Regions from separate parts of the Homo sapiens genome. Here regions 1, 2, 3 and 5 are each linked to region 4. The links are contacts of gene promoters, found by promoter capture Hi-C in blood cells and fetal thymus (Javierre and others, 2016). All regions are on one chromosome and are shown on one strand. Each heading gives the region's core, a stretch centred on a gene start or on the middle of the fragment in contact. The rest is flanking DNA. Distances are from core to core; before and after follow the strand shown.

What was found. The method cuts DNA at HindIII sites, captures the fragments that hold promoters and counts their contacts. A CHiCAGO score of 5 or more calls a contact.
Region 1: a fragment that was not itself captured here is called in contact with the fragment with the promoter of ZNF136 in region 4 in 1 of 17 cell types (neutrophils); the score reaches 7.4 in neutrophils.
Region 2: a contact is called between the fragment with the promoter of ZNF823 here and the fragment with the promoter of ZNF136 in region 4, in 3 of 17 cell types (M1 macrophages, erythroblasts and non-activated CD4 T cells). The highest score is 6.6, in M1 macrophages.
Region 3: a contact is called between the fragment with the promoter of MAN2B1 here and the fragment with the promoter of ZNF136 in region 4, in 1 of 17 cell types (fetal thymus). The highest score is 5.7, in fetal thymus.
Region 5: a contact is called between a fragment that was not itself captured here and the fragment with the promoter of ZNF136 in region 4, in 6 of 17 cell types (naive CD8 T cells, total CD8 T cells, total CD4 T cells and 3 more). The highest score is 9.2, in naive CD8 T cells.

Annotation. Positions count from the first base shown.
Region 1 is chr19:11,809,855-11,815,242 of GRCh38, forward strand. It overlaps ZNF440 (zinc finger protein 440), which reads left to right and starts at 4,419. Exons shown (of 4, transcript NM_152357.3): 1 at 4,419-4,596. The coding sequence starts at 4,594. RefSeq lists silencers at 2,410-2,519, 4,254-4,333, 4,754-4,823. The HindIII fragment of the contact is 8,771 bases long and covers 1-5,388 here.
Region 2 is chr19:11,735,958-11,740,880 of GRCh38, forward strand. ZNF823 (zinc finger protein 823) reads right to left here and starts at 2,989. Exons shown (of 4, transcript NM_001080493.4): 1 at 2,860-2,989. The coding sequence starts at 2,862. RefSeq lists enhancers at 2,363-2,492, 2,883-2,962 and silencers at 2,563-2,712, 2,973-3,167. The HindIII fragment of the contact is 8,001 bases long and covers 1-4,777 here.
Region 3 is chr19:12,662,707-12,668,014 of GRCh38, forward strand. MAN2B1 (mannosidase alpha class 2B member 1) reads right to left here and starts at 4,036. Exons shown (of 24, transcript NM_000528.4): 1 at 3,837-4,036; 2 at 2,997-3,099; 3 at 2,646-2,819; 4 at 2,086-2,279; 5 at 997-1,129; 6 at 611-756. The coding sequence starts at 3,995. WDR83 (WD repeat domain 83) reads left to right here and starts at 4,101. Exons shown (of 11, transcript NM_001099737.3): 1 at 4,101-4,286. RefSeq lists enhancers at 1,706-2,654, 2,655-3,602, 3,259-3,308, 3,369-3,498, 3,519-3,648 and 2 more and a silencer at 3,899-4,178. The HindIII fragment of the contact is 17,009 bases long and covers 1,576-5,308 here.
Region 4 is chr19:12,161,517-12,166,445 of GRCh38, forward strand. ZNF136 (zinc finger protein 136) reads left to right here and starts at 1,580. Exons shown (of 4, transcript NM_003437.5): 1 at 1,580-1,690. The coding sequence starts at 1,688. RefSeq lists enhancers at 1,421-1,510, 1,521-1,680. The HindIII fragment of the contact is 16,254 bases long and covers 518-4,929 here.
Region 5 is chr19:11,878,579-11,883,668 of GRCh38, forward strand. No RefSeq gene overlaps it. Among named protein-coding and RNA genes, the nearest start is that of ZNF69, 6.7 kb to the right of the region's middle. RefSeq lists an enhancer at 2,743-2,922. The HindIII fragment of the contact is 2,118 bases long and covers 2,277-4,394 here.

The DNA of each region.
Region 1 (5,388 bases), core at 3-2,502, 350 kb before region 4:
ACTGCAATCTCCACCTCCTGGGCTCAAGCGATCCTCCCACCTTAGCCTCCCAAGTAGCTGGGACCATGCCCAGCTAATTTTTGTATTTTTTTTTTTAGAGACAAGGTTTCACCATGTTGCCCAGGCTGATCTCGAACAGGAGTTCAGCAACCCTTTTATGCCACACTGTAGAGTAATAGGCAACATGGAAAAGTTAGTTTTATATATTATGCAGTGGCATGGACCAATCCAATCACTTTTTTGAAGTGCCAGCCAAACTCTTCTTCAGAGAAGCCTGTTTGAAACCCCCTAGAGTCAAAACCTGGTACCACAGGACAGAGCAGCAATGAGTGACCAACCCCTGACTCTATGTGCAGATGACACATCCATCCCCAGATTAGGTATCAACATAAGTGAAAGGTACTGTCATTGCCTGTCATTTTTTTTTTTTTTGAGATGGAGTCTCACTTTGTCACCCAGGCTGGAGTGCAGTGGCACGATCTTGGCTCACTGCAACCTCTGCCTCCTGGGTTCAAGCTATTGTCCTGCCTCAGCCTCCCAAGTAGCTGGGATTACAGGTGCCCGCCACCACACCCGGCTAATTTTTGTATTTTTAGTAGAGACGGCGTTTCACCATGTTGGCCAGGCTAGTCTTGAACTCCTGACCTTGTGATCCACCTGCCTCGGCCTCCCAAAGTGCTGGGATTACAGGCGTGAGCTACTGCACCCAGCCCATTGCCTATCAGTTTTTATAGAGTGTCGCTTAGATCAAGAAAGAGATGGTAATACAGAGTTAGGTGTGTCTGAAACCAAACACGACCTCATCCTTCTCCCTTGAAGGCCAAATGCACTCTGAGAGTTTGGTTAGAGTACAAACAACGCCACCAACTTCACTCCAGATGTGATTTTCTACAGGAGGCGGGCACTGTGTTGGGATGGCCAGTGAAGGTAAGGAACACTAGAGGTGCAGGTTTAGGTGATGAACAGGACACAGCCTGGACATTATTAGCCTTGACTATGGAGGTGTCTTGATGTTTCTCAAATTGAGACCAGTCTGGCCAACAGGATACTGAACTGGTTTTCGATGGAAAAATTCATCTGTATAGGGATCTATTCGCTTCCTTTAAGTTTCAGTTTCGTTATGTGGCATTTAGCATGAGTGACTCCATTTTGGTCTGATCTGGTTTCTAAGTGCCTAGTGCAGAAGCTCAGTCCAAAACAATGGCCTCCCATAATGTTCATTTTAACATTTTCTTTATACTAATACATTATATCAGGTCACCTCAAATGTCACCTCCACAGAGGGTTCTTCCTCTCACCTCAGTTAGTCCTACTTCTTTCCATTCAGTTTTTTGTTACACTGCACTTTTTAGGATCTGGGAAATCTAATCAAAGTTCACAGGGTTTATTGCTTATTCTTTTTCTTTTTCTTTTTCTTTTTTTGAGACAGAGTCTCTCTTTGTCGCTGCCCAGGCTGGAGTGCAATGGTGTGATCTCGGCTCATTGCAACCTCCACCTTCCAGGTTCAAGCGATTCTCCTGCTTCAGCCTCCTTAGTAGCTGGGATTACAGGCATGCACCACCACACTCAGCTAATTTTTGTATTTTTAGTAGAGATGGGGTTTCACCATGTTGGCTAGGCTGGTCTCGAACTCCCAACCTCAGGTGATCCACTCACCTCAGCCTCCCAAAGTGCTGGGATTACAGGCATGACCACTATGCCCAGCCAGGTTCATTACTTTTTAAAAATCAATCTATGAAAAATTAAATTGGCCAGGCATGGTGCCTCAGAACCTGTAATCCCAGCACTTTAGGAAGCTAAAGTGGGAGGGTCACTTGAGGCCAGGAGTTGGAGAGCAGTCTGGGCAACACAGTGAAACCCCATCTGTACAAAAAATACAAAAATTCGCTGGGCTTGGTGGCGCACACCTGTGGTCCCAGGCTCTACTTGGGAGGCTGAGGTGGGAGAATTGCTTGAGTCCGGAAGATCAAGGCTGCAGTGAGCTCTGTTTGCACCACTGTACTCCAGCCTGGGTGACAGAGGGAGACCTTGTAAAAAAAAAAAAAGAAAGAAAGAAAGAAAGAAAGAAAGAAAGAGAGAGAGAGAGAGGGAGAGAGAGAAAGAAAGAAAGAAAGAAAGAAAGAAAGAAAGAAAGAAAGAAAGAAAGAAAGAAAGAAAGAAAGAAAGAAGAAAAGAAAAGAAAAATCATGTAAATGAAACCAAATTCAGTGATGTTACCTTAACTTTTTTTCTTTTTTCGGGTAGAGACAGGGTCCCACTATGTTGCCCAGGCTGGTCTCAAACTCCTGGCCTCAAGCGATCCTCCTACCTTGGCCTTCCAAAATGCTGGTATTACTGGTGTGAGCCACCACACCTGTCCTACCTTTATTTCTAATAACTGATATGCCTTACATTAAAAAGTCTTTTAGAAAACACCTTTGAGCCATTTTCCAGATAGGGGAAGTCAATGAAGCTCCCTCTTGTGGTGAGGGCGACTTTAACATCCACACATCCTGTCTGGGGGACTGGATTTCTGAGTTGTGCTGAGACTTAAGAGTGGAAAAAAAGTCTACTCTTTTTCCTCTGCTCTCACACAACACGGAATACTTCTGTGACCAAATGCAAATATTTGAGAAGTGTCCCCCACATGCCAAGCAAAGCATCAATTCTGCAACTGACTCCAGCTCGATGTCTTCTAGTTCCAACACTTTCTACCTTTACATAAGGTACAAAACTGCCTCAGAAATCATCTGACCATGTGTCCCGGTTTGCCAGTGATAATCCTTGATAGTACCTGTTGTCCCAACATAGTTTTTCATAGCACCTCATCTTGCCATGGTTATCTGTGTCTGAACAATGAATATGTATGAATACTTTCACACATAAGCAAAATTAGGTTTATTAAATGAAGTTTCCAGGAATGTTCAAATTTCAACACCTGATTTACCTTATCACAAGTTATGGCTGTGCTAATTTCTCCAGGAAATATTCACAGAATATTGAATTTATCATTGTAAGGTGTGGAGCAATGAAGATGCCCAAGAGGCCAGGCGCACACCTGTAATCCCAACACTTTGGGAGGCTGAGGCTGGAGGATCACTTAAGCTCAGGAGTTTGAGATCAACCTGAACAACCGAATGAGACCTCATCTCTACCAAAAATAAAAAACTAGCCAGGCATGGTGGCAGGCACTTGTAGTCCCACCTACTTAGGAGGCTGAGGTGGGAGGATTGCTTGAGTCTGGGAGGTTGAGGCTGCATTGAGTAGCCATCGCACCACTGCACTCCAGCTTGGGCGACAGAGTGAGACCCCGTCTCAAAAAAAGATGGCTAAAACATAATTTTTTTTTTTTTGAGATGGAGTCTCACTGTGTCTCAGGCTGGAATGCAGTGGCACGATCTTGGCTCACTGCAAACTCTGCCTCCCGGTTCAAGCAATTCTCCTGCCTCAGCCTTTCAAGTAGCTGGGATTACAGGCATGCGCCACCATTCCTGGCTAATTTTTGTATTTTTAGTAGAGATAGGATTTCACCATGTTGGCCAGGCTGGTCTTGAACTCCTGACCTCGTGATCCACCTGCCTCAGCCTCTCAAAGTGCTGGGATTACAGGCATGAGCCACCGCGCCCGGCCTGCCTAAATCATAATTTCTATGACAGAATTTCTCATTTACAGCTTCCCCTGAGACCATCTTTCATTTCAGTTAACCCTGCTCCTTGGGGGTTATATGTGAGATAAAAGTGCCATGCTATATCATGTTCCCTGGCTCAGTCCTACACAGCATGTCCTGAAAAATGGGTCTTCAGTCACTGTCAATGCACCAGGGATAGATATACATAGTACTGAGAGCCTCTAAATCTTTAATAAGTTCTGGCTTGGTTAGCTCCCTTACAAGGAAAACCTTGCTGGAGTCCATAGCAGTGTGAGGAAGCCTTGGCCATGCCTCATCCCATTTCCCGCACGCTGGAAGACATCTGCCTCTCTCTCCTGGTGCAGTCGTGCCTTGCCTGGTCTGGGCTCCCCTCCTGCTCTGAGGCAAGCGTATCTCTCCATTGAACACTGAGTCTGAAATGCCCTGCACACACTTGTGATCCCGTGCAGAAGGAAGGAGCAGGGACAGCCCCTTGAATGAGGAAGCTAACAGTGCCTCTTCTAACAATAAGGAGCAAGTCGCCTTGAAATGCAAATATCTGATGACCAGGGCTCAAGGAAGGCGCTCGCTTAGAGAGGCTGTTCGCTTAGAGAGGCTGCTCGCTTAGAGAGGCTGCTCGCTCAGAGACGCTGTGGCCAGAACAAGTCAGACATGATCTGCAGGACCCGGTTACCCAGGGCTTCTGCTGTCACTCAGCACGGAGGAGGCGGGGCCTGGCGCCCCATCCAATCAGGGGTGCTGGGGCGGGGCCCTGTCAACTGTCCATCCGGGGAAGGGGGAAGGGACAGTCGCCCTCCGTCCATTCCTTTAGTGCTGCGCCGACAGCGGTCAGGATCTCGGCTTTCTTGCTTCGAGAGGGACTAGGTGCCTCCACCAGAGCTTCTGTCGCTCTGTAACCTGCACTGTGACCTACACTAGTCGCGGGAGCCACGCAGAGGACGCCGGAACACCCTGGAAGCCGAGAAATGGTGTGTGTGAGGGGGCTGGCGTCCGGGCGACTGGGAGAGGGGCTGGAATCGGCCGGAACCGGCTGAGGCGGGACCCGGGCCTCCACGCGGCGACTCCGGGGTCGTGGACGCGAGTCCCCTCGGTCGCAGGGTGGGGCTGGGCCGGCAGCCGGGACCCCGGGCCTCCTGTCCCGTCCCTTCACGGCGACTGCGGCCCCGGCTCCGGAGCCTAATCTGGGCAGCTCCGCGTCTCCCCACATTATGCGGGGGCCACGGGAGGGATATGGGGGGATCCCGCCTCGGATATGGGGTTTGTTAGAAACAAGTGCCCGGTGCCGCAAAGAAAACCAGCATCTAGGCAGAAAATTCCTCAGCAAAGCAAATTTATTTCTACACAAGGGTGCAGCTTGCGCCAGTCACAAGAGCACAGCGAGCGGGGTAGGGCAGGGGTTTTTCTCCTTAACGCAGTTTCTAGCACTTCTGTGTCCTTTCCTCATTGGCTAGGGTTGGACCTCACAATCTAAACTAACTCGATAGGCTAAGGTTTAAAATTAAATAGGGTCTGGCCAGGCGCGGTGGGTCACGCCTGTAACCCCAGCACTTTGGGAGGCCGAGGCAGGCGGATCGCGAGGTCAGGAGATCGAGACCATCCCTGGCTAACACGGTGAAACCCCGTCTCCACTAAAAATACAAAAAAATTAACTGGGTATGGTGGCGGGCGCCTGTAGTTCCAGCTACTCGGGAGGCTGAGGCAGGAGAATGGCGTGAACCCGGGAGGTGGAGCTTGCAGTGAGCCGAGATCGCACCACTGTA
Region 2 (4,923 bases), core at 1,739-4,238, 420 kb before region 4:
CTGTTGGAAAGTCCTGTCCCACAGAATTTAGCATTAGTCTGTCAAGTCCACATAACAGGAACAGAATAGTTATCCACTGTCTCAAATTCTCCACTCTACAAAGGAGACGAACTAACATTTTGGTAAATCTTTATAATTCATCAATATATCCACCACACTTTCTTGCAAAAATGTATTCATTTTTCTGCAGTCATAAAGGAAAAGTTTTTCCCAATTTCTGTTCACTGCTAGGCCCTGAAATTCCGTTTGAAATCATCCAATAAAAAAACAGACCTGAGGCTGGGCACGGTGGCTCTCTCCTATAATCCCAGCAGTTTGGGAGGCCAAGGCAGGTGGATCACTTGAGGTCAGGAGTTCGAGACCAGCCTGGCCAATATGGTGAAACCTCGTCTCTACTAAAAATACAAAAGTTTTAGCTGGGCATGGTAGCATACGTCTGTAATCCTAGCTACTCAGGAGGCTGAGGTGGGATGATTGCTTGAACCCAGGAGGTTGAGGCTGCAGTGAGCCAAGATCCCACCACTGCACTCCAGCCTGGGTGACAGAGCGAGACTCCGTCTCAAAAAAAAGTAAATAAAAGTTTTAAAAAGAAATAAAATATAGGACTAAATATGTAATGAGTTTGCTGAAACCCAACTTGTTCTTGTCTCTTTGAACATACTTTATCTTCTTTATTAAGCTCTAATGATAAAATGCATTTTGCAGTTAATAAAAAGCTGAAATGAGTGAACAAATCTTTTCAAGATGACAAATGCAGGGAGGGGCTGACTGGAACACAGACAAATCTGACTACTTTAGTGTCAGTTCAGGTCCTCTTATCACTTGGGACATCTCCCACCCCAGTGCTGCTCACTGAACTGCTGAGTAATTACCCTCCAAGGAGAAGCTCCCTCAATACCGCCAACCAGCTGGCTCATCAGCCATGTGTCCCCAGGGAATGGAAACTGGGGTGGGGAAGAAAAGCTGAATGTCTTAAGGGCTTTGCTTTTTGAGGAACAGTATACCAGGAAACTCCTCCCACCCCACGACATCCAGCTGCTCCCCTATAAGGTCCCACCCCCCACCTCTGGCTGTCCTCTGGGAGGAGTGACTCAAAGCTGATATTCACTAGACACTACAAAAGACTTAGCAGCTATGAGCATCTTGGAGCAGCCCCAAACAGTTCTGTAACCCAGGACCAGGACACCATAGAGGGTGGGCTGACAGATCACCCTGTGCCATTTGCAAAGAGGAACCTCGACTGAAAATATTCGGGTATCTCTGTGTAGACAAGATAAAGGACAGCCACACATGCACTATTTTTTTTTTCTTTTTCTTTTTTCTGAGACGGAGTTTCACTCTTGTTGCCCAGGCTGGAGTGCAATGGCGTGATCTTGGCTCACCGCAACCTCCGCCTACCGGGTTCAAGCAATTCTCCTCCCTCAGCCTCCCAAGTAGCTGGGATTACAGGCATGAGCCACCACCCCGGCTAATTTTGTATTTTTAGTAGAGACGGAGTTCCTCCATGTTGGTCAGGCTGGTCTCGAACTCCCGACCTCAGGTGATCCGCCAGCCTTAGCCTCCCAAAGTGCTGGGATTACAGGCGTGAGCCACCGCGCCCGGCTTTTTTTTTTTTTTTTTTTTTTTCACACTGGAGTCAAGTGGTTATTCTTTGCTTCCTCACATGTGAAATGTTCACAAACACAAAAACACATCTTTTAAAAAGAGCCATACATTGCTATGTGAAAAGAAAGTGACAATTAAAATAATGCCTCTGTTTGAAATATTGCCTGAGGGACAAAGAGTTCATAAAGTTGCTGGGAATTGATGAGAGACAGTTAGCCTGGGGAAGGCTCTGAAAACCAAGAGATTTGCTGCCAGCCCTAGGAGGAGTTAGGATGAGGGGATAGGGTGGTGGATTTGAGACCCTGCTGCCCACATCTTTGGAAGACTCGGAGGGAAACCGGTCACCTTTGGGAAGAAAGAAGGGACTGGGGAACCCACAGATCACAGCTTCTCTTCCAAAGCACAAAGCCCACACACACGAGTCTGGATTCTGCCTGGTGACCCTCCGTTGTCACCGTGCAGCGTCCTCACCGGGTTCACAGGAACTGCGAGCCAGGCTGGAGGCGAGATTGCAGTTAGATATTAACCAGGTGCCCTCAGCCCCGCTGCCTCACGGGGCCGCCTCCCTGAGAGTCAGGTCACAGCAGACGCTGACCGCCGGCTTCCTCATCGTGCCCGGGGATAAGATCTCTTGAGAGTTGCTCACGGGTCGCCTCAGTTCTTTCTCGGATCCTGAATTGCAGCGGAAAGGCTGGCGCCAACCAGGCTGAAGACCCCACAAGGGAACCCACTCAGCAGAATGCGGTTTCTTCACCTCCAGTCCCAGGAGTCACCTCTCACTTCTCCACCAACCAGCGACCCCACACTCCAGCCGTCCCTGTCCACACCTCTAAACACCCCATCCCCAAACCTCTCAGGGAGGCGGATCTGGGGTGTCCTCCCCTCTCCCCCATTAAACTGTTTCTGCTGCAGCCTTCGGCGTCTCGGTGCAGTGACTCGGGCCGTGAACCTGTGCCGGTTACAACTGCACAATCTGGGGAGACGCGGAGCTGCGGGCGCGGAGCTGCCCAGAGAGGGCGCCGGGGCCGGGGCCGCAGCGGCCGAGCAGGGACGGGACAGGACGCCCGGGGTCCCGGCTGCCGCCCCAGCCCCATCTTGCGGCCCAGGGGACCAAGGGCAGAGCTGCGCCAGGGGCACTGGGATTTGCAGACCCCGGAGTCGCCCAGGGCGAGGCCCGGGTCCCCTCACGGTCGGTTCCGGCCGGTTCCAACCTGCCCCTTCTTTGCCTCGGGACGCCGGGCCCCGCACACTCACCATTTCCCAGCTTCCAGGTGTCCGGGTGTCCTCCTTAAAAGCCAGTGTGGGTCCCAGCGCGACAGACGCTGATACAGACCTTCCAGGGCGTCTCTCTCTCAGCGCCAGAGCCAGGACTCAGAGCGCAGGGGCGTGGAGAAGACTCCGCGGGCTCTTTGAACGTCGCACCCTCCTCCCTGCAGCGTGCCTGATTGACAGTTCTCACAATCCCCGCCCCCTCATCCCTGATTGGATAGTGCTCCAGGTCCCGCCCCTTGGTGGCTGATTGACAGAAGAAGCGATCTCACAGTGCTGAGTGGAGCCGGATGAACAGGTTCCAGGCACGACCCTTGGCAAGGCGGGCTTCCTCCCAACGGAGTGACCTGACCCCTCCCGAAGTGACGTTTGCATTTTAGAATTTCCTGATTGTATTCAGTGGGTTCTTCCTGCTTTTTCCTCCTGGACAGGGACTCACAAGTGTGTGCAGGGAATTCCAGGCTCCCTGTCCAGTGGAGCCATTCCCGGACCTCGGAGCAGGAGGGGAGCCCGGGGCACACAGGCCACCCTGCAGCAGGAGGGAGGGCCTGATGTCCTCCAGGGATCAGGAATTTGGGATGAGGCTGTTGGCGACGTTGCCAAGCCTTTCCCTCACCTTATCTCTCAATCTACTCATTTTCAGCCCAGAAGATAAAAACAGGACAACAAAATAAAATAGTTGAGTATGTGGAAAAACTGGAATTATATGGCAGCAATATTTCATAAAGAATCAAAAGAGAAGAAAAGCAAAAACTTGAACAAGCTCAGAGAAGCAGCCTACTGCACTCACAGTTCACAAGCAGACCCCCTTTCAGGAGGTCAAACATATCCCCAAGCTGGGAAGCCAGGCAATGATTCCTAAAATGGAGCTCCGGGGTGGATCAGAAGCTGGTGATAAGGGAGGGACAATTAAGAATTTTACTCTGAGGTCTCAAAATACCTGTCCCCTCTGCACAGCGTGGAAATGCTCCCTCCTTATGCCATTAAATGTTAATGAATTAAACGCTCCAATCAAAAGCCAAGACATCACACTTTGAATTTGAAAACATTAGCCTTTCTCCATATGTTTATGAAGTAAAAATACTAGACTTAAAAGCGTTATGGCCGGGCGCGGTGGCTCACGCCTGTAATCCCAGCACTTTGGGAGGCTGAGGCGGGTGGATCACCTGAGGTCGGGAGTTTGAGACCAGCCTGACAAACATGATGAAACCCCGTTTCTACTAAAAACGCAAAATTAGCCGGGTGTGGTGGCACGCTCCTGTAATCCCGGCTCCTCAGGAAGCTGAGGCAGGAGTATCGCTTGAACCCGGCAGGCAGAGGTTGCAGTGAGCCGACATCACACCACTGCACTCCAGCCTGGGCAACAGAGCGAGGAAAAAAAAAAACTCCATCTCAAAAAAAAAAAAAAAAAAGCGTTATGAACTAGAAGCTGGTAGCCATGGCTAAATAGAAAGGAGCTGAACATGAGATGTCAATAGATGAAATGAAATCTTCAATCAACTTCTAGAAACTATAGCATTTTCTGCCAGGACAAATGGGCACGTTTAGAAAATGAATGAAAAAAATGACGTCTGAGTATAACCTAATGCATAAATGATACTGTTTCCTTAAAAAAAAATAATAAGCACACACACAGACACACACACACACACTCCCACAGTCTATTATGCTAGAAACTGCTCTCTGAAGGATAAACTACTATTTTATGAAATGCTCCACCCCTCACTCCTCACATTAACTGCTCCTGGAACAATGTTCTATTTATTTGTTTCCACACATATTAAAAGAGGGCACAATGTATCAAACTAACTGATTGTCAGGGGTTTATATACAGATTCTGTATATTTTTACAAATGGCAACAAGTAAGTAGTTGATTTCTGCAATGATTTAAATACATATAAAAGCTTCCAGACAAAAATAGCTGTTCGCATTACCATGATGAAGGAAAAATCAACAATGGTGAGACCCACACCCCCTCCCCCAGAGAAAGTATAAAAGAAATCCTAAGAGAAGCTAGAAAGCCCAAAATTTGTATGTGCAAGTTTAAA
Region 3 (5,308 bases), core at 2,786-5,285, 500 kb after region 4:
GGAGGTTGAGGCGGGCAGATCACCTGAGGTCAAGACCAGCCTGGTCAACATGACGAAACCCTGTCTACTAAAAATACAAAAATTAGCTGGGTGTGGTGGCAGGTGCCTCTAATCCCAGCTTCTTAGGAGGCTGAGGCAGGAGAATCGCTTGAACCCGGGAGGCGGAGGTTGCAGTGAGCTGAGATCATGCCACTGCACTCCAGCCTGGGTGACAGAGCAAGACTCTGTCTCAAAAAAAAAAAAATAATAATAAATAAATAAAAATGTTAAAAATAGAGGCCAGGTGCGGTGGCTCATGCCTGTAATCCCGGCACTTTGGGAGGCCGAGGCAAGCAGATCACTTGAGCTCAGGAGTTTGAGACCAGCCTGGACAACATGATGAGACCCCAGTGCAAAAATACAAAAATTAGCTGGATGTGCTTGTTTGAACCCAGGAGGCAGAGGTTGCAGTGAGCCGAGATCGCACCACTGCACTCCAGCCTGGGTGACAGAGTAAGACTGTCTCAAAAAAATTAAAAATAAGGAGAACGTGTTAGGGGATGCCTGTACCATGGAAAGAGCTCATTGTATTGTATATACCGGACTCGAAGGTTCTGGACACCAGGGTTACCTGGGCAGTGGCCACATTTAGGAAGTAATCGACCAGCTCCTTGGCGTTGTACTCGGGGCTGCGAGGGTCCTCCACCAGCGGCTGATCGACACACAGCACATCCCAGCACAGATTCCTTGGCGGGTTGTAACCATTGGGAAGCACACCTGCAGGTCACACCAAGTTCAAGGGGTGGCCCATCACCCAGACCTTCCCTGGTTTCAAAGCCGGCCATGTCCCACCCAGGATGGGCTTCAGAATTTGTGTCCCAATGCAAAAGGAAATGCAGGGCCTTTGTTCCCAGACTATAGGAATTCCAGGACAGTGACAACAGAGCAGATATCAAGCCCAGGGCCCTTCTGAGTGTGTGGCACCATGGCTGGCCCTGCCCTCACCAAGCCCCCTACCAGTGAAGAGGTCCGCGGTCGGGGGCTTCAGGCTGGTGCTGGCCCGCCACACCTGCTCCATCTCCAGCTTCTGCATCCGTACCCACTTATCTTGATAATCAAGGCGCCCAAAGAAGAAGCCGTCGAAGCCCATCTGGGGATGAGGGAGGAAAAGGCAGTGTGAATTAGTGCCCAGCCCTCTCACCACCAAACTCCCCTCTGCTTGGGAGGGGCAGGTCAGAGCACAGGTTAAAAAGCAGTGCTAGGTCGATGTGGTGGCTCTTGCCTATGATCCCAGCCTTCTGGGAGGCCAAAACAGGAGGATCACTTAAACCCAGGAGTTTTTGAGACCAGCCTGCACAACACGGGCAGACTGTCTACAAAAAATTTAAAAATTAGCCAGGCGTAGTGGTGCGCTCTTGTAGTCTCATCTACTAGGGGGGCTGAGACAGGAGAATCGCTTGAATCCGGGAGATTGAGGCTATAGTGAGTTAGGATTGCACCACTGCACTCCAGCCTGGATGACAGCAAGACCCTGTCTCAAAAAACAAAAACAAAAACACGTAGGGCTGAAACAGAGAGGCCTCCAGCTTATTTCCAAGCTTGGGGAAGTTTCAGAACTCACCACCTTGGGCTAGCAGGGAGAGGGCGGGTCCAACATCAGAACCCAGGTTCACCTCCCCAGCACTGTCAAAGCGCAGAGCAGGCCTGACTCCAGGAATGAGGTTCCCCCTTCCACAGCCTGAGGATGGATGGGGTCTGAGCACAGGTAATGAACCTGTTTTTAAGGCAGCCTAGGCATCCACTTGCCACCCGGTTTAGGGAGGAGCCAGGACCCGAGCTAGTGGGTGGGGCCAGAACACCAAGAGGGGCCTATTAGGGGAGAGGGCGGAGCCAGCCGGAGCTGGGTCAGCCTGGGCTGGGCATAGCCGGCTGAGGCCAGAGCTCAAAAGCCACTGGCTTTACGGCTCACTCAAGGGGCAGGGCTTCAACAGGCCTAGGCCTGGGCCTGGTCCTTGTGAGATTGCAGGGAGAGGGCGGGGTTTGACTGGGCGAGGGAGGAGCCAGAGTGAGTGAAGAAGTGGGCCCAAGAGAGGTCCCGGGTCGCACCTGCGCAAACAGCGAGGCCTGCTCCCGAGAGTGGCCGAAGGGGTCAATGTGCCAGGCCACACGGGGTCGCCCATCATTGCCAAATGTGTCCTCCAGAAAGCGCAGCCCAAGTGTCATCTGGTCCACGATGGCACCGTAGTGGGTGGCTGCCTCATCGTTCATCACCCAGCCACCATTGGCGAACTCCAGGCGCCCTGTGCCAGGACAGGCAAGGTCAGGGTCAGCGGTCAGAGCCAGGAGTGGGAGTAGGGTGGGTGATACTGGGAATGTGAAAGCCTGCCTGTGTACACATTTCTGGCGGAAGGACAAGAGGGGTCGCTCCCAGGCCATAGTTCCCAGATATGGGAAAGAGGCCCCCTGCATGGCAGGCTTCCCAGAGGATGCACAGCAGGTGGGGCTTTGTGGGATGTATAGGAGGTCTCCAAATGGAGAGTCCAGGCAGGCGGAGCGACACGCATGTTATACAGCTTGCACGTGGCATGACAAATCTCAGAAACCAGAGATGCAGAAGCAGAAGCTGGGCTGGGCTTCCTCTTTTCACTTCCTTGGGGTAGGCTCACCCTGGCGCACAAGGTCTCGCACGACTTCCTGTGTGGCATTTGTCTGCTGGTGCCACCAACGGGAGAAGAAGGCAATCTCCACGTAAATGAAGCGACGGGTGGGATCTGCCAGCAAGGCAGAGATGACCGAGTCCAGGATGTACTGCACACCGGCGTGCTGGATGTCATTCTTGACTGTGGATAACAGGGATAAGGCTCTCAGGGAACAGCAGAGCCAAGGGGGTTATTCCTAGACAGAGGAGCCCAAACCCTGGATATTAGGGTAGCACTGGCCCCACCCTAATGTCCAGGACCCAGAGGGATTACAGGGACCATGGGGATCCCAGGGACCAGTCCCCATCCTCTACTCACTTCCATAAAAGTACTGGTCCACGGTTTTGAGCCAGCCCACGTCATCATGTGTGTGAGGCAGCAGGTGCACGTTCAGCATGTTCGGCTGCACTGTGGGGCATGTCTGCACAGGGACCCCAAACACACATACCTTGTCAATAACCCCCGAGGTCGGGGGCTGCAGAGTAAGTCTTGATCTAGAGGTGAGTGACTCAGAGAGGCCTGATCTCGCCTATGTGCAGAGGAGGCCAGGCCCTCCCAGGCAGGACACACACATACATAGTTGTGCTCATAGATACAACTCCACTTTGCACAACCCCACAGGGCAGCTCTCATTCACACTCCGGGAAAATAATAATAGAAGTAGCTGATGTTTGTTCAGCATTTGCCGACAGCAGACGGCCACCGTGGGAGGTGGGGTGATGTTATCCCCAGTTTCCAGATGAAGGCACTGAGGCTTAGAGAGGATAGGTGACTTGCCCAACGTCACACACTCAGGAAGTGTAAGAGCTAGGCTGGAATTTCAGGCAGACTCCAGAGTCCCAGCTCTCAGCCAGCACCTCCCCCCACACATACACTGCTCACCCCCTGCCACCTCCTGCCCCTCCAATCCCACAGTTAAGTGCAGACAAAGTCTAGGCAAGCATCCCGGAGACACGGAGGCAGGTACAATCAGACACAGTCCTATACTCAGATGCGCACAGCCAGACCTCGCAATGACACAAAGCACGCACTCAGACCACACTGTCATATCATCAGCCATTCACTAGACACCCACAGGACAGACCCACCCACACCTCTAGACTGTATTCTGGGTTTCACTCTGCCTCCTGTACGTTTCAGCTCGGAGGCCCCACTCACCTCGTATCCCCCGGCCCGAGCACCGGCAGCCGCCAGCAACAAAAGGAAAAAGCAGAGAGGCGGGAGCGGTGGCCGCAGGGCGCGGGACATGGTCCAGGGGCCTGCTGAGTCCAGGCAGCCGCGAGCGCAGACCCCCGAAGCCCGCGCGTAGGCGCCCATGGCTCAGCAGCTTCCTCCTGGGGTTCCCCGGCCCTGGAAAGGCCGGGCAAACGCCCCGCCCCCAGACCCGGCCGGGCCAATCGGGGTGGGGGGCGGGGCCAGGGCGCGGTCTGGAGGCTCACGGGAGAGAGGCTGTAGCCCTGGGCAATCCCGGGGGTCGTTACAGGAAGGTAGGAAAATGCCACCCTCAGGGCACTGGTTGGGCTAAAGGTGACACTGGCGTCTCACGGGCTATGAAGACGGAATGCCTCTTAATGCCGGAATTCCAAGACGGAATGCCTCTTAATGCCGGTAGGAGCAGAAGTGCTTTTCCTAAGGGGGCCGGGTTTTCCTAGCCGGTGTAGTGTGTCCATGGGAATCCAGGGTGTCCGTCCCATGGACCTTCAGCGCTAGGGTCCTGGAAGGACCTAGCTTGCCTAAGAGGAGGATCTGATGAAGAGTCCTATACTGTGGGGATTGGGACGTTGGGTAAATACCCCTGGAGTACCAGGGATGGGATCCAGCCTGGTTGAGAAGGATCCCTGGGTGTTCCGGAGAGAAAAGAGGGTCTGACAAGTGGGGAAGGACCCCGAGTCTTTCATGCCTTTCCCAATTCCTACCAGTTCATTCTCTGATAAGAAAACAAAGCCCAGGGCAGGCGCAGTGGCTCAAGCCTGCAATCCCAGCACTTTGGGAGGGCCAGGCTGGTGAATCACTTGGGCCTGGGAGTTTGAGACCAGCCTGGGCAACATGGGTTGTTTTGTAGAGACGGGTTTGAAAACACAAAATTTGTAATTTTACACAAAATGTAAAAATACAAAAATTAGCTGGGCATGGTGGCACATGCCTGTAATCCCAGCTACTTGGGAGACTGAGGCAGGAGAATCACTTGAACCTGGGAGGCGGAGGTTGCAGTGAGCCGAGATCAAGATCATGCCATTGCCCTCCAGCCTGGGCAACAAGAGCAAAACTCTGTCTCAAAAAAAACAAGAATTAACTGGGCATGGTAGCACGCATTTGTGGTCCCAGTTACGTGGCAGGCTGAGGTGGGAGGATTGCTTGAGCCCAGGAGTTTGAGGCTGCAGTGAACATAGATTGTGCCACTGCACTCAGCCTGCATGACAGATCAAGACCATTTTCTTTCTTAAAAAGGAAAAAAAAAAAAGGAAACCAAAGCCTAGATTATCTAGGTCAGCAGGGCCATCTGGTGAGTTGCCAGAGGGCAGAAGTCACTGTCTTGTCCCTAGCACCTGACTTAAGACACAAGGTTTATGAAGTAAGCAAATGAACAGCCAGAAGCCTCCAGACTGGGGCCCCACACCAGGCCTATGGGG
Region 4 (4,929 bases), core at 330-2,829:
TGTGCCTCAGCCTCCCCAGAAGCTGGGATTATAGGCGCCCGGCTAATTTTTGTAATTTTAGTAGAGACGGGGTTTCGCCATCTTGGCCAGGCTGGTTTTGAACTCCTGACCTCAAGTGATCCGCCCGCCTCGGCCTCTCAAAGTGTTGGGGATTACAGGCATGAACCACTGTGCCCGGCCTTGATTTTTCTATGTATAGAGTTGCTGCAGTCAGGCTGTAATTTGTATATATGAAGAAAATATGTAAAGATCATATTTAGAGACTCATTTAGGTAGCGTTCCAGAGAAATGGTTTATGAGCTAGAGAGGTTGGAATTTCAAGGGGCCTAAATTGACCACAGGTGAGAGTTTTCTGCTGGTGTAAATTATTAAGGTATTGAAGGAGGGAGCGTTCCCACATTGTGATGCTGTGACAGGAGGGCATGTTGAGCTCCCAGAGTTAAATCCTTAGGTTTCCTGCCTCATCATCAGGGTCTAATGTACTCTGTGGCTCCACTTCAGCAGTCACTGACTCTTAAGCTTGGGAATATGTTCTACCTTCTGAATTCATCTTTTCCTTTTTAAATGTTCTGAAGTGCCCTGCTTATCTGAGCTAGTTCAAATTTTCGCTTTACTTCCCTTTTGATTTCTTTACAGATTACGGAAATAGAACTTGTTTTTCCATGTATTTAATAATTTTATTCACTTGTTGGCAGTTTTTTATTTTCTTGGGTGAAAATGAGTAGATTGATTTGGGAGGCGAAAGTGGGAGGTTCACTTGAGGCTAGGAGTTCAAGACCAGCCTGGACAACAAACGAAATCCCGTCTCTACAAAAAATTAAAGAATTTGCCGGGCTTGGTGGCATGTACCTGTAGTCTCTACTACTCAGGGGACTGAAGCGGAAGGTTCGCTTGAACCCAGGAGATGGAGGCTGCAGTGAGCTATGATCATGCCATTGCACTCTAACCTGGGTGGCAGAGCTAGACCCTGTCTCAAATAAATAAATAAAGTAATAAATAAGTAAATAAAGTAATAAATAAGTAAATAAAGTAAAAAATAGAGAGAGATAAAGAGGTATGGTATGAGAAAGCCTTGGGCACGCTTCCCATATCCTCATCCCAAATTTCCGATCCCTGGGAATATCACGCCCTTTCTTCTGTTCCAGTCCTGCCTGGAACTCCCTGCGCACACCTGTGACTCCTCATGCAAGAGGTAGATGAAGAAATGACCCACTGAGTACAGGAAGTATCTCCTTTGGTAAACCCGGATTAAGTTCTGCTAAAATGCAAGTATCTCCCATCTCCCCATCCCCCGCAGACCAAGTACAGTGAAGGGGACGAGGGGAAGAAGTCCACCCTGCGTTTGAGGGCTGGGGCCAAGACCCCTCATTCCCGCTTCACTCATCTATGCTTCACATCTCCTGTCATTCACATCTGTCAAGATGCAGGGGGCAGAGCCCGAAGCTGTACCCAATCAGGGGCACCGGGGAGGAGCTCTGCGATCGGTCCAATCAGGCGCGCCGTCGGGGACGCAGCTGCAGACGTTCAACCTTCTCGCGGGATTTTCATTTCTCGCGTCTGCCGTACTTGGTTTCGCTTCGCTAGTCCCAGAGGCCCAGAGTGGCTCGCCTGGAGTCTCTGTGGCGCGGTTTCCTGTACCTGCCTTGGGATCCGGAGGGAGGAAGCTGGGACACCCGGGAGTCAGGAAATGGTGAGTGTGTCGGGCCCTGCGTCCCGAGACAGGGAGGAGGGGCTGGTTGGACGACCGGAACTGGCTGTGGCGCGGCCCGGGCCTTCCCGTGGGCGACTCTGGGTCTGCGTACCGAGTCCCTCTGGCGCAGCTCAGCCCTTGGTACCCTCGGCCTCAGGGTGGGGCTGGGCCGGCAGCCGGGACCCCGGGCGTCCTCGTCCCGCCCTGTGCCGCGATTGCGGCCCCGGCCCCGAAGACCCAAGTCTCTTCAGATTGTGCGGGGCCCACGCGAGGGTCATGGGGTGGGGGAAATCCTGACTTGTGCGTGGAAGGAGCTGTGGTGTATGAGGTTCCCAGTTCCTTTTCTCTCCACAGAGGACACCCGTTTTTCCCTGAGTTTTCTAAGTGTATGGGATGCAGGGTCCCAAATCCTCACTCTGTCCCCCAGCCTGCTGTTTCCAGGGCTTGCAGTAAATCCCCAAATTTCCTGTTCTCTTTTCGCTTTTCCAAACGCCAACCTCTCCCCTTCCATTCACGACATTAGCAACCGTTTCTCCTATATTCTACATTTCAGATATTGTGCTTTCATTGTTTATTTTTCAACAAAGCAATGGATTACTCTTTCATCAAGGTTTGTTTTCTGTTCATAGCCTTGACACTCCGCTGTAAGAAACCTTTGTGCTTGTCCTTTTGTCTCCTCTATGCACAGATACCTCATCAGAATGTCTTTGAGTTGAGGTTCCCCTTTGGAATCTTTACAGGGTGATATGCCTTCAGCGCCCCCTCCTATTTATTTTTTCCTGGTTCTGGGTTTCAAAACTGTCTGGGGCTGACTCAAGCTGCCCACAGCTGCCAAGTCTCTTGGAGGATCTAGTGAATATTGGGTCTTGGGTGAGTCTTCCTAGAGGACAGTTGAAATAGAAGGCTGGGAGAATGCCCTGGGACTAGGATAAATCTAGCATACCCTGCTTCTAAATAGCCAACCTCTGGGGGCACTCAGCTTTTCCTCCCCCAACCCCAGTTTCCATCCTTTGGAGACACACTGGTGGTCAGCCAATCAGATGCTGGTATTGAGGATTGAGAAAAGAAAATTTTTTGTGTGTTTTGAAAGAGTCTCGCTCTGTCGCCTAGGCTGGAGTGCAGTGACGTGATCTCGGCTCACTGCAACCTCCATCTTCTGGGTTCAAGCGATTCTCCTGCCTCAGCCTCCCCTGTAGTTGGGACCACAGTTTTGCGCCACCACTCCCAGATAACTTTTTTTTTTTTTTTTTTTTTTTGAGACGGAGTCTCTCTGTCGCCCAAGCTGGAGTGCAGTGGCGTGATGTCGGCTCACTGCAACCTCTGCCTCCCGGATTCAAGCGATTCTCCTGCCTCAGCCTCCCCAGTACCTGGGACTACAGGCGCATGCCACCACGCCCGGCTAATTTTTTGTGTTTTTAGTAGAGACGGAGTTTCACCTTGTTAGCCAGGATGGTCTTGATCTCCTGACCTCGCGATCCGCCTGCCTTGGCCTCCCAGAGTGCTGGGATTACAGGCGTAACTGTACCCGGCCTCAAAAAAATAATTTTCGTCTGATAAATGTGGGTCCTTTTAAATGAACGGGCACATAGAGACATTCAAGTGATACAGCAATCACCTTCTAACTCCCTGAAGCTATGAATTCATCTTTTGAAACTGCTATTGCCACAAGTAGGTATAATCAACTTACTAATGCAACACGGGACCCTGGAACCCACACCCTATAGCTTAACAGTGCATAGCCACGCGCTTATCAATGTTACTTCTGTAAATCAGTGAGAATTCCTGACAAACAACTTTGTATCAGCCCACATCCTGTCCCCCTTTTTCAGACACTTTGGGTCATATTTTGTGTTTCAGCCTCTACTTTTTAGGTCGACAAGGGAAAAGACGGAAATGATTCCTGTCCTTTGTATTCTCTCAGCCTTGTGAAGGGAGAAAAACTATCTCAGCGAGGTGGTGGAATAACCTGAAAAACAAAATGCACTTTGGGTACACAGTGTCGCGTAATGCAGTGTCTCTTGGGCGGGTGGTCACTGAGCATTTCAGTGAGCACTATGGGGGTAGAGGGATGTTCCAACTGATAGATAAGATGACCTCTGCTGACACTGGAGTCAGACGAATGTCTGTATTCCAGGTCAGCACTGCTTCTCCCTGGGATTCTTGCCTTAACAACAAGTTCAGCTTGAGTATTTCATTTAGTTGAAAGTGCATTTTATCAGTAGAGCTTCATAGAGAAGATAATGTATTTCCCAAGAGGTAGATTTCAGGGGGAAAGAGATTAGTCTTATATTCCACATTTTAAAAATTCTTATTTTCAACGGCTTGTATCTGTATTTCTCCATATTTTGGAGTAATTATCTGCATGATATGTGTAGGTGCTGTGGCTTTTTACCTAAGAAGCAGAATCTCATTCCAGTACATTTGAGAGTCATGATGCCAAATCTTTGATGGTCTGTGTCAGAGACACAAAGTCTACAATGTGTGTGTTCACAGTGGTGTGGATTTTATGCCTCAAGTCACTTAGAAAAGTGTCTTAGAAAACCTGGACAGTGCCCTTGTGTCTTCACAATAATTCTTTTGTGTATTTATGGAGATGATTCTGTAATCTTTTGGGACATGGACCAATGTGTATCTCTTCATACTCATATTCTGCACCATCTGTATGTAGCACGTCAGACTTAGCGGTGTGACCTTAAACTTTTTAAAAGAAACTGGAAGGTCAATAAAATTTAAACTGCTGGCTGGGTGCGGTGGCTCACGCCTGTAATCCCAGCACTTTGGGAGGCTGAAGCAGGTGGATCACCTGAGGTCAGGAGTCTGAGACCAGCCTGGCCAACCTGGTGAAAACTCGTCTCTGCTAAAAATACAAAAATTAGCCAGGTGTGGTGGTGGGCGCCTATAATCCCAGGTACTCAGGAGGCTGAGGCAGGAGAATCACTTGAACCCAGGAAGTGGAAGTTGCAGTGAGTTGAGATCATGCTATTGTGCTCCAGCCTGGGTGACAGAGCAAGACTCCGTCTCAAAAAAAAAAAGAAAAAAAATTTAAACTGCTTAACAACAAATTCTTATTTTCTTTTATTCTTTCCCAGATCATGTGTAGTATATGTGTAGTATGTTTGTCAGATCTGTGTTCTGTTGGGTGACTTGAAATGGAATTCCAGGGCTTAACCTTGAGAATATTATCAGGGAAAAGAAATGGGGGTGGGGAGAACCAACTCTCCTATTATGGCTTCAGAAAA
Region 5 (5,090 bases), core at 2,086-4,585, 280 kb before region 4:
CTCCCACCTCAGCCTCCCAAAGTGCTGAGATTACAGTTATGAACCAATGCACCCAGAACTCAAAAAGGAATATTTATAAGGGAAAATATCTAATGTTCAAATTGTTATGTATAGAGCAGTTAACGGGAACTATCATTTAGGGTCTATGGGATTCTAGGACACTAGGTATGAAACAAATATGAGGAAGGTCAGAGAACAAGCTGACTTGATGATTAATGCTGAAGGTGCCGCAAGCTTGGTTTAAGTTTTCCTCCTCCCATCCTCCCTGATGAATTTGATAAAGTTTAAAGGGATGGTTTCACCGGGGGCTTTTTCCACTGACTGCAAGGAGGTGATCCCGCTTGGTAAATCTTCAGTAGGCCAAGCCTCTTACGTGGCTAGAATGATCCAGTCCATAAGGAAATGTCACCACCTGCTGTATTTTACACTTTGACCATCAAAGGGGTACAGGGTTTCCCCAGGGAGTTTGGTGGGATTTTAATTTTTTGTTTGTTTGTTTTGAGACAGTGTCTTGCTGAAGCGCAGTACCCAATTATAGCTCACAGCAGCCTCAAACTTTGGGGTTCAAGTGACTCTCCTGTCTCAGCCTCCTGAGTAGCTGAGACTGTAGGTACACACACTTCTCCTTGGTAATTAAAAATTTTTTATGGAGATGGGAGGGTCTCACTTCACGGCTCAGGGTGGTCTCCAATCTCGGGCTTCAAGCGATCCTCCCACTTTGGCCTCCCAAAATGTTGGGATTACAGGCGTGAGCCATGGCACCCGGCCTCCCAGGCTGTTGTTTGAAGGTCTTTGCAATCTCTAAGAGTTCTGCAGCAATTTATTCCCTGACAGTGAGAGTCTCATCCTTTGACCCCATTTTGCCGCAGTAGCTGAACGTTCACTTTTCTTTCCATAAGGGGGCGAGCTTGCCAGTGACCCTAATCCCTCTCCTCATCGATGACTTCTTTGTCATCAGAGCCTTCCTCTTCATAAATTCCCACGGAATCCAAGTTTTCACGTCCCAATCGGGCTTAGTTATGATAGCCACAGGCCCACACCAGCTGCCACAGCACCCCTGTCCCATGGAAACCGCCTGACTCTCTTCTCCCCAAGCGTCCTGTCCCAGGAGCCCCCATCATCTCTGCTCCCCCGGGCTCCAGGCCCTAGAGCCGCGCTGCTGCAGAGCCCGGTTCCCAGGGCTGCTCCCTCCATATATCCACATTCATCTCCAGCTCTCCACCCTCTCTCCAACCAGCCAGGCCCGGAGGTACTGCAGTGTCACTGAACGTGCGTCCCTCAGCTGCCACCTCCACCACGATCTGGAAATCTTTTAAATGCACTTAAGTTATCTTAGAATTTTCCTTCCCCACTTTATACATAAACATAGGAGGAGAGCAGGGACTCTGCTGGTGTCTTATTCACACAATGGGATTGAGGGTGTTTGTGTCATGGAACTGATCAATGGGGTGAGAAGTAGCTGAATAACCTGCAGGGGGCAGCAGAGCCCGAGGCCGGTGACTCAACGCTGAGGCCAGTGTGGAGCCTGCAAAGGAAGGGAAAGGAGCCTTTCCTGGGGGCTTCCGGGCAGCCCGCCCTCCCCTACAGGTGGCCTCCAATTGCTCAGAGCAGCTCCAGAAGGAGTGCGGATTCCGAGAAGCTGAAGAGCCCTGGAAAGCAGAAGACCCACATGCACACGTATGTGTGGGGGTTCTGTCCTTTCTGGTGTTGTACCTCTGGAGCCTGGGGCTGTCTTCTGGGCAGGGTTTGGGGTTTGACATGCATGGGGCCACTGGGGTCAGATTTGTAAGATACAGTGAATTTCTTTAAGTTTTTCTTTAAAGATTTAGCCTGCTAACTTCCTCGTCTTTTGTTCTCAAACTCAACTTTCCTGTTCCTCCTTGCCCCTAGTTACTTTAAAACAGCCTACCCCGTTCCCATCAGCTCTAATCAATAACTCACATCTGTTCCCTTGGTTACCTGTACCCATTGTTCCCCCAAAACTGCACATCTCACATGCTCCACCTCTGTACCTCACATCCCCCTCCCCTTCTATATTTAGAAAAATATGTACAAGCAGCCAATCGGGTCAGCTCAGACTGTGCGGTCCGACCCCAGCCCATGGGGGAGTAACACAGAGATAGGGACCGCATTAAGGATAAAAACCTCCTGGTCTCCTTTGTTCTCTGTGCTCTTGTGATCTTGATTGACGTGAGTGGCACCCTTCTGCAGTAGTAAATTGCCTTGCTGAGAGAATTAAAATTTTGCCTGAGTGCTGGTTTTACTTCACGGCACCAAGCTTTTATTCCGGGAGCATTTTATATCCAACAATTCTAGGGGATCGTCCGAGATCCCCATGCTCCTTTTGGAAGAGTTCTTCAGTCACCCTACCCTGGGGAGACGCGTCCCACTGCCCCATTGCGGTGGCCTCAGGGACAGGAGATCGAGACCCACCCATTTTGACGAATAAACCCGGACTCTCAGCAACGCGGGGAAGAGAGGCTTGCAATACCGCAGCGACCAGGTAAACTCTGTGCACAGACCAAGGTGGGAAACGTTGCAGGGGCAACAAAGTAATTCTTTGGTAGTCGGAGGGGTGTGTCAGGGCATTCTGGGGGTTGAAAGTGCATGAATGGTAACAAGCACTACTGCTGTGCGGAGCGAGTGAGTCCAATCTGCGGTTCTGTGGTCACCTCACACGGCTTAGGGCAGCCCTGCGGGGGTCCTGTCACAGGTTTATACGGACCTGCCATCAATGCTAAGAGGAACCTGAAACAAACCTGCGAGGGAAGCGGCCAGAGTGGATGAAGCGAAAGAAGGGTGCAAGGAACCTCCAGCAGGTGGAGCTAAAGGATAGTGGAATTGAGCCTTAGCCACACTTCCAGTGAGGGATAGGCAAAAGACCTCCTAATATGAGGGGTTGAGCCACAAGGAACCCCCCAAATAGGCAAGAGATCCTTAATTTGAGAGGCTGAGCCACAAGGAACCCCCAAAATAGGCAAGAGATCCTTAATATGAGGGGTTGAGCCACAGCAAGCCCCCCTAGGCAAGAGATTCCTATCACGAGGGATTGAGCCTAGCCAGGACCCAGTATAGGAAATATTACAAGCAAAAAAGACAAAGTTAGCAACAAAGATATCCCCCCTAATAGTCCCCTAGGTCTCATGTTAAAACATTAGAAAGATAATGAAAAGACTAAACATAAGAAAAAGCAATTAGTGATAAAATATTGCTGTTCCATTTAGACTCAAGAACGAATCCTTGAACCCTTAGTTTTCTGGCCAGAATTTAAGTCGAATGAGGGATGGATTTGTGAACTTCTAATAGAAAATGTTGCTAGTAGAAGACCTGCCTCCTGAGAAGAAACAAATTATGCCCTATGTTAGTTGCAAGGAGTTGTCCTTTCCCCTCCTCCAAGGATTGAAAGGAGCAAGTCAAAAACTAATATTTGGAGGAAAATGAGTTGTACATGTGCCCTATTAAGATAGAACCATCTTTAATGAAAAAGACAGTGAAGGAAGGGGCTTGGGGGATCCTAGCAAAAAGAACAACTCGCAAGATCCCCTAGACCATTCCCCACCTAATACCCAACCCTTCCCCTCAGGCATCGCCCAGTAAGTCTGTTCTTCCCCAGCCTAAGTCCCTCTCCCCTAAAGAACTCCAAGCTCCTAATTCACCAGATGGCTTTTGCCAGGCTAGCAACATGAAGGATCTGCCGCAACATGTTGTCAGCGTTGTCTGGCCCATAGTGCACCCCTGCAGCGGCAAAGCCCATGCTCCTGCCCACTGGCTGGTCCAAGGTCCTGGCACTGTATTGACGGCAGCTCTGCATGACATGCGAGCCAGGCCCCAGCCTATGCCCCATGCAAACTACATTATAGGATATCTGCCTTACTTTGCTGAGGCTAAGTAATACGGGGCTTCAGCGATGGCTCCAAGCAGCCTGGCATCCCCGCAGCTAAGTTTCCTGAGCAAGAAGTAGATAATCTTTCAGCGGATATATCCACTAGCATTTATTATAGTCAGGCCAGTGTTAAAAGTGAAAATATCCACCAGAAAAGAACTCTGATTCTTTAAAGTCACCTATGTTAAAATGTACCACCAAAAAAGAATTACATGTGTATAAATATGAGGCTATTCTGTTAAAAATGATAGTTTAATGTTACTAGTAATTTGCTTAACCTAACAAGTTTCTTAACGAAAGATCCAAATCTAAAAAGGAAGCACACATGTTTAGATTTAACTGATTACCATACAAATGTCCGGCCAAACTTAAGAGAAACCCCCTTCAAAAATGATTAAAGGAAAAAGGATTCAACAGATGTTCAATAATAAATAGAGAAGTTCCTAGAGAAATAAAATTTAAAAATTGTTTAATAGTTTACCCAAATTTGTAAGCTGTTTGCACTTAGTCAAGCTTTAAAGTAACTGCAAAGGAACCATCTATACTAATCTATATTGATTCTAAATACACCTTTATCGTGGCTCATACATTTAGAAAATTTCAGACAATAATAAAGGTCAAAGCCTTGTTCATGAAGAGTTAATAACCCAAGTGTTAAATAACCTTCAGTTACCAGAAAAAAAAAAAAAGCTATTTTCCACGTCCCCAGGCACCAAAAATCCTATCTTTCAAGAGTTAAGAAAATAACCTAGCAAATCAGATAATCCGAACCAGCTGCCGTTTCTCCTGTAGGCACTGAAGGGAATTCAAATGTTATTTAAACCTCTTATGAAAGAAGTCCTATCCCACCTAAATTAGAGGACCCATTAAAGACCTCAAGCTATGTATAGCACAGTTAAAGTTTATATGTGTATGAAAATGTACATCCTTAGCCAAACAAGTCTAGAAACTTAGTTGCCATAACTCAAATGTCTTCTGTCTTCCTATTAATCCAAACTACCTCTCAAAGCAATCCACTGCCAACATTCCTACATACTTGGTTTATCTTCCACTTTCTCTTCCCTCAAAACTCACAATTTTCCAGTACAGGTGCGGCTCCTGGAGTTCCCAGTGCGTCAACACCGGCCTGAGGAGCTGGCCTAGTACTTCCCACCATTGAAACTGCAGTCTGGACAGCAGAGAAAGGATAGACCCATCACACCCGAGT